4 separate regions of the Homo sapiens genome follow, and regions 2, 3 and 4 are each linked to region 1. Evidence: promoter capture Hi-C in human tissues and cell types (Jung and others, 2019). All regions are on one chromosome and are shown on one strand. Each heading gives the region's core, a stretch centred on a gene start or on the middle of the fragment in contact. The rest is flanking DNA. Distances are from core to core; before and after follow the strand shown.

Region 1 (2,662 bases), core at 98-2,597:
TGCGCCACCTCTTTGGTATTGATCTCTTCCATCTGCCCTGAATTACTTCCATTGCTGACCTGCGCGCCGGTCACCGAAGGGTTGGGCTCCCGGGCTGTGCCCAGGAGTTGCCCGTGGCCCTGGGCGTTCAGGTGGGCGTGGGGATGGTGCGGAGGAAGGCCGTTGATGGGCACCATGCCGGCCGAGGTGGGCGTGAGGTGCTGCTCCCCGTGGCGGCCGAGCATGGCCGGGTGGTGGGCTTCGAAGCCGTTGGGGGTGAGCATCTTGTCGGTGGGCATGGCGGCCCCCGGGTGGGCATAGTGGGGGAGCCCTTGCTGGGAGTTGTGGATGCTGCCCAGACCGGAGCTGGAGAGGGGCGAGAGGCTCTGGCCCATGCCGGCCACGTCCTTGTGGTAGGGGGTATAGAGGTTATTCATGGAGGCCAGCCCGCGCTCATCCCGCATGAGCGTGAAGCTACCGCTCACGTTGCCCGCCAGGCGCTGGTGGTGGTGCGGGTGGTGGTGGTGATGGTGGTGGTGGTGATGGTGGGGGAACTTGTCCGAGACTGTGGAGATGGGAGGCAGCGGCTGCAGAGGGGTCAAGGTGGTGTAGGTGGTGGGCATGCTCATACCTGGGGGAGTCTCGCAGGCCATGGTCATGGTGGGATGCAGGGGGCCGGCCAGGCTGTGCTCAGGGGCCCGGTGGTGGTGGTGGTAATCTCCGCCGCCGCTGCCGCCGTCCAGCAGGGACGCCATGCCCATGGAGCGCGGGTGCGCGGGGGGCAGGTGGCTGCCGCGGTGCGCCACGGAGCTGCGCGCGTGGGGGCTGCCGCCCAGCAGGTCGGCAGGGGCGGGCACCGGCTCATGGCTCACCCCGTGCAGCTCGCCGATCGCTTCCATGGTCAGCTGCGCGTTCATCGTGATCCGGGCGAGCAGGCGGCGGACACAACATCGATGTGGCCAGGCAGAGGCGGCGAGGGGCGCACGGAGTCCGGTCTTCACATCGGCTGCTGGCGACTGTTGCCTTCCTTCCTCTCACTGTGGGGCTCTGTCTCTCTCTCTCTCTCTCTCCGTGTGTGTGTGTCCGTGTGTGCGTGTGCGTGTGTGTGTGTGTGTGTGTCTCGCCTTCCCTCTTACCCCCCACCTTCCCCTCTGCGTCCTCGGCTTTTTTTTTTTTAATATTAATTTCCAAAGAGGATCCGCGCCGTTGGGAGAGCGCAGTGCCCCAGCCCGCCCGCCTCGGCCACCTCTCGCCCCTCTCTTTCTTAAAATTCTGAGGTCTCCGGCTCCCCTGCCGCGGCCCGCGCGCCTGCCGCGTCTGCTGCCTGCCCGCCCCGCTGGCCAGCTTGAGCCATGGCTCTGTTACTGTTACAGACTCTGTGGCCGCGGTTCGGTAGCCGCCGCCGCCGCCGCCGCAGCGGCCCGCCCTCACGCCCGCCAGGCGCAGCGCGCATGCGCGAGGCCCGCCCCCGCCCCCTAGGTCGCGGCGCGCCAGGCCCTTGGCGTCCCGGTACAAATGAAGGAGGGGGCCCAGCGCCTTCCCTGCGGCGCTGGATGGCCAGGGAGCTGCGGGCACGTGCGAAAGATTGGCGCAGAGCGCGACCTGGGGCCGCCGCTGCAATCCCAGGAGACTCGCGCCTGGCTCGCTCGCCTCCCTTGCTTGAGTGGGCTCTGTCCTCCCAGCCCGGGGACGCTCGTGTCGGGCTTCTAGCGGCTGGAGTGCTGTGCTTGGAGACATCGCCCCTCTCTCTCCAGTTGCTGCTTCCCGGTGCAGCTTGCCCGGGGAGCTGGGGACTGTGTCATCACCCCTTCGGCTCTAGCCCACTAAGCTTTATTTCCCGGGGGGCTGCTGGGAGTGCGCTTTCCCACCCTTGAATTCACGGCCTATTGGGGGATGGGGGTTGGGGTGGGGTGGGGTGCAGATTGCTTAAAGGGCTGGGTCCGTTTGGCGGCCGTTGACCCGGCACCCTTCGTCCTCCCAGATACATACTTGCCCACCCTTTCTCATCCATGCCCTGGGGAGAGGAGTAATCAGTGCCAAGAATCCCAGTTCGGGCCATACCTCACTGTCCCCCGCCGCCTGGCTCCTTCTCCCGCTCAGCTCATAATTAAGGCTGTGCGTCCGCTTCGCCGATGACTCGGCCTGTGGAGGGGGGCGAGGGAGAGCGGAGGGAGTGCCCTGGAGGGTACCCATGTTAACTTCCGGGTGCTGGTGGGGCCGTGGAGGCTCGGGCCGTCCCTGCGGTTACTCCCAAGGCCCTCCTGCTAAAGCACCCGGAGGCGGTTGCTTTCCAGAAGTACTGACGCAGACAGGGTGGACGCCGGCGCGCGGGTCTCCGCTTGGCCCCTAGGGACGCCCTTTTCCCGGCGTCCCCGAGAGACGCCTCCAGATTTGAAAATCAATTCAGCTTCGGGAGTAATTTCGCCCTTCCCACAGTCACGCTCCAATCTGGAATCGAACCTGGTCTTTGGGCCTGGTGGGGACGTGTGCGGAGGCCCCCAGTTTGAGACGTACACCCGGCCGCCACATGCCGCGGCTTTCTTTCATTTACAAAAGAAAGAAAAAAAATCCGCAACAAAAGGCAGAGCCGTGTCCGCTTAGGTGCTTTCATCCCTCAGAGAAAGGACAGATGTGCCCATTGTCCAGCCCGTGGCAGTTATGGCCGGGTCAGCGCCGAGCCTCA
Region 2 (2,662 bases), core at 122-2,621, 1.2 Mb before region 1:
CTTGTCTAAAAAGCATACCATTACGGAATTTCCAGTTTTATCAAGAAGAACAGTTTACAAAATATATTTAATAAAGGTCTGGCTGCCTACAGTTCCTTATAAGGAAGACCATGTATAAATTTCATTCTTTAAAAAAGAACTCAATTTATGGGAGTCTATCTATGAGTAAACGAAGCTCCAAGGCTTGGTTTAAACATTTCCACTCTCAAAAAGGACTGATGAGTCCAATCTCCTTGAGAAACATGTCTACTTCATCTAGCTTTTAAGGAGATTCTAAAACGTTATGTATACATACACTTTTCTCAAACAAGCACTGTTGTAAATTTTTCACATTGCCTTACTATATTAAAAAAAAGGCTACCTTACAGATTAAAATATTATCTAGGAGGATTACCAAACTACGACCTCCTGATAAATGAGACAGCTCTCCAAGCCACTGTGACTCTAACCTTTCCATTCTAAATCTTTCGGGCGCGGAGGATGAATTTTTCTATCTTTTTGTTGGAATTAAGATCCTGCATTATCAGGAGATACAGAGTCAGGCTTAAAGCCACAGACTCCAGCAGCTCCTCGCTGCCCTAGCACAGCGGGCAGGGGGAGCCAAGGCGCAGCATCGCCTCCACGCTCCGAGACCAACACCAAGTCTCTTCACCTCCACGCTCCGAGACCAACACCAAGTCTCTTCGCCTCCACGCCGAGAGCAGCTGCGAAACGGACGCTCTGGGGTTTCAGCCGCACCACCACTTTCCTCCACCGCAGACCGAAGGGCCGCCCTAGGAGGAGCCTTCTAGTCCAGTCACCTCAGGCCCGTTTGCTTGGGGTGGAGAGTGCGGTGGATTCCTAAGCCTTTCCCCTAACGGGTGATTTCCTACACCAGACGCAGGACCCACGGTCCCACGGGTCCCAGGGGGAACTAAACCCCAAGGCTGCAAAGGGGCCACGGGTGGGGCCCACCAACATCTCACAGCCTCCTGAGGAGGCGTGCGCCCTGGACAGGAGGTCCCTGCCCCCGCGTCTGGCCCCTGGTATCTTCCCCTAGGGCTCCCGGCCGCCGCTCACCGTGAAGGGGACATCCCCGACGCTGCCCACGGAGTAGCAGTTGTCTCCAGGGTTGACAGCTCCGGTGAGGACCTGATGCAGATGCATCTCCGGAGCCCGGGCTGGACAGAATGCGCGGGAGGTGCGACAAGCTCCGCGCCTGACCCTCCTCGGGCTGCGAGAGCCGTTTCCCTCTGTGCCTCCCTCGGAAACCCGCCCCGCGGAGGCTCTGGCTTAACTCCTCGCCCCCCTTTCGCCTTCCCTCCGCCTCGTCCCTGCCATGGGAGCTCCTCGACCGCCGCCGCCGCCCGGGTCGCCGCTCAGCTGCGGAAATGCCCGGATGTTCCCACTGCCTGCTGCACCGGCGCACAAATGCGGGAGGGCAAGGGTGCTTGTGAGGCGGGGGAGGGCACCGGGGGGAACGCGCGAGCCGGGAGCGTGCAGCAAGGGAGCGGGCCAGCGCGCGCGCCCACCGCGGGGGAGCGAGGTAGAGCCCTCCCCCCGCGGCAAAGCTCTCAGCTCAGTCTTTCTTCCCCCCATCACCCGCGTTTGCGCGTGCGCGCGCCGTGGTTTCCAGGGCAATTGCGCGCGCCACGCCGACCCGCCGTCCCGTGATTGCGCGCGCAGACGTGCGGGAGTTCCCTTGGAGCCTCCCGGGCTGTAGCCGCTGCGGACTGGGGCGGAGGTGGGGGCGGGGGCGAGTGGGGTGCAGGTCGCTCGGGGCCACGCAGCAGTCGGACGCCGGGGACGCGCCACGAGCCGGTTTTGCTGTGTTGAACGTATTCCAGAATACAGTGTGCAATGGTCAGTGCCGTTGACCTCAGAAGGACACCCGTCACCGGGAATTTCCACCTGGAGATATCTTAGATATCTTCAGTCTTTTCGAAAGTGCAGTACATAAGATATTTTATTTTACATAAACAATGTAGGCATCTTGCAACTATTTAGAGAAGCCATACTCCCCTGAAAGCTAATTATTTTGCTCCCACCTTTTGTCACGGTTATTCTAGACAGCAAAAAGCCGCCTTAGAGACGGGTGACTCCTTTCGACTTTTTTTCATGAGTAATTTCATGAATTAGCAGAATCGCCTGATTTTCCAAACTATCTGCTAAACTTTGAATGGTTGATAACAAGGATCATCAGCTCCCTGCCACAGGCCAATTCATGGCAAATGTTCTAACCCATACTATGCTTAAATCACAGGGTAAGGAAGTAGGGGACACCAAGACATAACTATCTGTAAAACCAGGCAGAACGCCAAAGGTGGTGTGATTGAGATATAAAAGTCTTTATGCACCACAGAAGAGGAAGAAGAATGTTGACTAAGGGCGTGGATAAGGCATTATGGAGACATAACCTGACATAAACGCTGAGTTTAATTTTGACAGGCTGAGATAGACAAGAAATGCTGCAAATACAGTACAGAAAATAGAGGGGGTGTTGAAGGTACAAAGATTAATGTTTGAGGCAGATGATTTATAGGGTAGGGAAAGTAAATAATACTTAGCAAGAGATCAAGGTATCCAAGTGGTCTAACTCTTGGCCTACCAAAACATATTATGGAGAGTCTTGAATGCTCCAAGAAGCCCAGATTTCACTCTGCATGCAGTGGGGGTATATCAG
Region 3 (2,662 bases), core at 69-2,568, 1.1 Mb after region 1:
AGAAGTGTTTTACTTCCCATTATGTGGTCAATTTTAGAACAAGTGCGATGAGGTGCTGAGAAGAATGTCTATTCTGTTGATTTGGGGTGGAGAGTTCTGTGCATATCTATTAGGTCCACTTGTTCCCGAGCTGAGTTCAGGTCCTGGATATCCTTGTTAATTTTCTGTCTCGTTGATTTGTCTAATATTGACAGTGGGATGTTAAAGTCTCCCACTATCATTGTGTGGGAGTCTAAGTCTGTAGGTCTCTAAGAACTTGCTTTATGAATGTGGGTGCTCCTGTATTGGGTACATATATATTTAAGATAGTTAGCTCTTCTTTTTGAATTGATCCCTTTACCATTATATAATGTCCTTTTTTGTCTCTTTTGATCTTTGTTGCTTTAAAGTCTGTTTTTATCTGAGATTAGGATTGCAACTCCTGCTCTTTTTTGCTTTCCATTTGCTTGCTGAATATTCCTCTGTCCCTTTATTTTGAGCCTATGTGTGTCAATGCATGTGAGATGGGTCTCCTGAATACAGCACACCGATGGGTCTTGACTGTTTATCCAATTTGCCAGTCTGTGTCTTTTAATTGGGGCATTTAGCCCATTAACATTTAAAGTTAATATTGTTATATGTGAATTTGATCCTGTCATTATGATGCTGGCTGGTTATTTTGTCCATTAGTTGATGCAGTTTCTTCGTAGTGTTGATGTTCTTTACAATTTGGTATGTTTTTGCAGTGGCTGGTACCGGTTGTTCCTTTCCAAGTTTAGTGTTTCCTTCAGGAGCTCTTGTAAGGCAAGAGCCTTACACCACCACCAGGTGGTGACAAAATCTCTCAGCATTTGCTTGTCTGTAAAGGATTTTATTTCTCCTTCACTTATAAAGCTTAGTTTGGCTGGATATGAAATTCTGGGTTGAAAATTCTTTTCTTAAAGAATGTTGAGTATTGGCCCCCGCTCTCCTCTGGCTTGTAGGGTTTCTGCAGAGAGATCTGCTGTTAGTCTAATGGGCTTCCCTTTGTGGGTAACCCAACCTTTTTCTCTGCTGCCCTGAACATTTTTTTCTTCATTTCAACCTTGGTGAATCTGATGATTGTGTGTCTTGAGGTTGCTCTTCTCGAGGAGTATCTTTGTGGTGTTCTCTGTATTTCCTGAATTTGAATGTTGGCCTGTCTTGCTAGGTTGGGGAAGTTCTCCTGGATAATATCCTGAAGAGTGTTTTCCAGCTTGGTTCCATTTTCCCTGTCACTTTCAGGTACACCAATCAAATGTACATTTAGTCTTTTCACATAGTCCCATGTTTCTTGGAGGCTTTATTTATTCCTTTTTATTTTTTCTCTAATCTTGTCTTCTCACTTTATTTCATTAAGTTGATCTTCAGTCTCTGATATCCTTTCTTCCGCTTGATTGATTCAGCTATAGATACTTCTGTATGCTTCATGAAGTTCTCGTGCTGTGTTTTTCAGCTCCATCAGGTCATTTATGTTCTCTAAACTGGTTATTCTAGTTAGAAATTCATCTAACCTTTTTTCAAAGTTCTTAGCTTCCTGGCATTGGATTAGAACATACTCCTTTAGCTCAGAGGAGTTTGTTATTACCCACCTTTTGAAGCTTACTTTTGTCAATTCATCAAACTCATTCTCCATCAAGTTTTGTCCCCTTGCTGGTGAGGATTTGTGATCCTTTGGAGGAGAAGTGGTGTTCTGGTTTTTGGAGTTTTCCGCCTTTTTGAGCTGTTTCCCCCCATCTTTGTGGATTTATCTACCTTTGGTCTTTGATGTTGGTGACCTTCAGATGGGGTCTTTGAGTAGACTTGCTATTCATTTCTGTTTGTTAGTTTTCCTTCTAACAGTCAGGCTCCTCTGCTGAAGATCTGCTGGAGTTTTCTGAGGTCCACTCCAGACCCTGTTTGCCTGGATATCACCAGCGAAGTCTGCAGAACAGCAAAGATTACTGCCTGTTCTTTTCTCTGGAAGCTTTGTCCCAGAGGGGCACCTGCTAGATGCCTGCCAGAGCTCTCCTGTATGAGGTGTCTGTCAGCCCCTACTGGGAGTTATCTCCCAGTCAGGATACACGGGGGTCAGGGACCCACTTGAGGAGGCATTCTGACCCTTAACAGAGCTTGAATGCTGTGCTGGGAGGTTTGCTGCTCTCTTCAGAGCTGTGAGGCAGGAATGTTTAAATCTGCTGAAGCTGCACCCATAGCCACCCCTTCCCCCAGGTGCTCTGTTCCAGGGAGATGGGGGTTTTATCTATAAGTCCCTGACTGGGGCTGCTGCCTTTTTTTCAGAGATGCCCTGCCCAGAGAGCAGAAATGTGGCAGTCTGGCCACAGCAGCCTTGCTGAGCTGCAGTGGGCTCCGCCCAGTTTGAACTTCCTGGCAGCTTTGTTTACACTCTGAGGGTAAAACTGCCTACACAAGCCTCAGCAATAGTGGATGTCCCTCCCCCCACCAAGCTCAAGCATCCCAGGTCCATCTCAGACTGCTGCTGTGCTGGCAGCAAGAATTTCAAGCCAGTGGATCTTAGTTTGCTGGGCTCCATGGCATGGGGCCCACAGAGCCAGACCACTTGGGTCCCTGGCTTCAGCACCCCTTTCAAGGGGAGTGAACGGTTCCGTCTCGCTGACATTCGAGGTACCACTGGGGTTTGGAAAAAAAACTTCTGCAGCTAGTT
Region 4 (2,662 bases), core at 123-2,622, 1.0 Mb after region 1:
CACATCAACAGGCTAAGGAAGAAAAGTGATATGATCATTCAAATAATGCAGAAGAAGCATTTGGCAAAATACAATACCGATTCATGATAAAAACTCTATTCAAACTAGAATTGGGCGAGCTTTCTCAACCTTATAAAGAACATCTAAAACAACCTACAGCCAACGTGATACTTACTAGTGAAAAACTAAATAATTTTCTCCTAAAATTAGGAGCAACAAGGTGACTATGGCTTTTCTCACCACTTCTATTCAGCCTTGTGCTAGAACTCATAGATAGTGTAATAAGAAAATAAAATGAAATAAAAGTGATACACATTAGGAAAAAAAGGAATAAAACCATTTTGATTCACAGATGACATGATTCTGTATCTAAACAATTGCAATTAGTTGACCAATAAAACACACCACAAACCCCCAAAACCACCCAAAAACCAACCCCTGAAACTAATAGGGGATGATAGCAAGGGATACAAGGCTAATACACAAAAGCATATTATGAAAAGGTGGTCAACATCACTAATCATCAGGGAAATGCAAATAAAATCTGCAACGAGAGATATAACCACACCAGTTAGAATGGCTATCATCAAGAAGACAAGAGACAAATGTTGGCAAGGATGTGGAGAAAAGGGAATCCTTGTACACTGTTGGTGGGAATGTAAATTGGTACATCCATTATGGAAAACAGTATGGAGGTTCCTCAAAAAATAAATTAAAACCAGAACTACCATATGACCCAGCAATCCCACTCATGGGCATGTATCCAAAGGAAATGAAATTAGTATCTCTAAGAGAATCTGCTCTCTCATGTTCATTGCAGCATTATTCACAGTAGCCAAGACATGGGAACAACCTAAACGTCAGTTGATAGATGAATAGGGAAAGAAATTGTGTTATATACAGAAAATGGAATATCATTCAGCCTTAAAAAAGAAGGAAATACCACAATTTGTGACAACATAGATGAATCCTGAGAGAATTATGCAAAGCAAAACAAGTCAGACAAACACAAATACTGTATTACCTTACTTACATGTAGAATTTTAAAAAGTTGAACCCATAGAAACAGATAATAGAATGGTGATTGCCAGGAGCTGGGGCTAGAGGAAATGGGGAAATGTTGGTGAAAGGGCACAAATTTTCAGTTATAAGATGAATACATTCTGGGGATCTAATGTACAGCATGGTGACTATAGTTAATGATACTGTATTGTACACTTTAAATTGTTAATAGAGATCTTAAATTGTTCATACCACACACGTACACACAAAAGGTAACTAGGTGAAGTGATTGATGTGTTAACTAACCTAATAGTGATAATCGTTTCACAATGTACACATATCAAATTATCACATTATACACCTTAAATTTATACAATTTCATTTGTCAATTATGCCTCAATGAAGCTGGAAAACTTTTTTAAAAACACAAAAGTATGTGGATAAACAAATAGTGGTATAGCCATACAATAGTGTGTGTGTGTTTATATATATATATGAAAGGATGAAGAAGAGGCAACGGGATCAGGGAGGCAGGGATGGAAGTGAGGCAGCCACAAGTCAAGCGAGGATTGCTGGCATTGGCCAGAAACTAGAAGAGGCAAGGAATAACTTCTCACCTCCAGAGAGAACACAAGTTGGCCAACATTTGGTTTTTGTCTCAGTAAAACTGATTTTGGACATATATATATATATATATATATATGTTGTTGTTTTTTTTTTTACTCTTGTTGCCCAGGCTAGAGTGCAATGGCGCAATCTCAGCTCACTGCAACCTCTATCTCCCGGGTTCAAGCGATTCTCCTGCCTCAGCCTCCCGAGTAGCTGAGATTACAGGTATGTGCCACTAGACCTGGCTAATTTTGAATTTTTAGTTAGGACACACATCTATTTTTTTGCTCTGTTTCTCCATGTTGGTCTGGCTGGTCTCGAACTCCTGACCTCAGATGATACACCTACTTCAGCCTCCTAAAGGGATGGGATTACAGGCGTGAGCCACTGCGCCCGGCCTTACAATAGGATATTATTCAATTATAAGAGGAAATGAGCGATTATGCCATGAAAAGATATGGAAGAAACTTAAATGCACATTTTTAAGTGCAGAAAGCCAAATTGAAAATGTTTGCAAATATATATGACATTCTGGAATAGCTAAAACTACAGAGATAAGAAAAATATCAGTGATTGCTAAGGATTTTGGTGTGTGTGGGGGTTGTTGTTGGGGGGATGAATAGGTGAAGTATGTGGGATTTTTAGGGTGGTAATACAATCCTGTATGATACTGTGACGGTGGATACTTGACATTATGCATTTGTCAAAACTCGTAGAACTTGACAATAAAAGGAGTAAATGTTAATGTATGCAAATTAAAAAATCTATCAGGGTGTTTTGGAGTCACAGGAAAAAATGCATATTGTGAGAAGATAATCTAGCTGTATCACAAATGTATGAAACAAGCACACTGAGGGATTTGGGGAAAATTGCTGACCTAAGTAACTTTGGAAATAAGTGGAGTCTGTGAGACTAAAGGCAAAAGGAACTGTACATAAGCACTATGTGCAGTTGATACGTTTGTTTCCCCTAAGGATATGGAGTAATGATTCTCATACTGCCATACATTATACTAGAACTGAACAATGAATGGTGGATGGTGGGAGCCAGG

The links. Contacts are between HindIII fragments. The study calls those that stand out against the background at their distance.
Region 2: the fragment with the promoter of DMXL2 here is called in contact with the fragment with the promoter of ONECUT1 in region 1 in 1 of the 25 tissues and cell types used here (heart right ventricle).
Region 3: a contact is called between a fragment that was not itself captured here and the fragment with the promoter of ONECUT1 in region 1, in 1 of the 25 tissues and cell types used here (dorsolateral prefrontal cortex).
Region 4: a contact is called between a fragment that was not itself captured here and the fragment with the promoter of ONECUT1 in region 1, in 1 of the 25 tissues and cell types used here (dorsolateral prefrontal cortex).

The regions. Positions count from the first base shown.
Region 1 is chr15:52,788,989-52,791,650 of GRCh38, forward strand. ONECUT1 (one cut homeobox 1) reads right to left here and starts at 1,348. Exons shown (of 2, transcript NM_004498.4): 1 at 1-1,348. The coding sequence starts at 896. It overlaps LOC105370824 (a long non-coding RNA gene), which reads left to right and starts at 1,442. Exons shown (of 2, transcript XR_001751550.2): 1 at 1,442-2,662. RefSeq lists enhancers at 1,344-1,638, 1,635-2,403, 2,404-2,662 and a silencer at 1,386-1,455. The HindIII fragment of the contact is 12,558 bases long and covers 1-2,662 here.
Region 2 is chr15:51,621,400-51,624,061 of GRCh38, forward strand. It overlaps DMXL2 (Dmx like 2), which reads right to left and starts at 1,372. Exons shown (of 44, transcript NM_001378457.1): 1 at 1,060-1,372. The coding sequence starts at 1,146. RefSeq lists an enhancer at 510-919 and a silencer at 1,290-1,509. The HindIII fragment of the contact is 6,819 bases long and covers 1-2,662 here.
Region 3 is chr15:53,891,264-53,893,925 of GRCh38, forward strand. It overlaps a transcript of UNC13C not described here. Among named protein-coding and RNA genes, the nearest start is that of UNC13C, 86 kb to the right of the region's middle. The HindIII fragment of the contact is 3,102 bases long and covers 1-2,662 here.
Region 4 is chr15:53,800,383-53,803,044 of GRCh38, forward strand. No RefSeq gene overlaps it. Among named protein-coding and RNA genes, the nearest start is that of WDR72, 42 kb to the left of the region's middle. The HindIII fragment of the contact is 9,303 bases long and covers 1-2,662 here.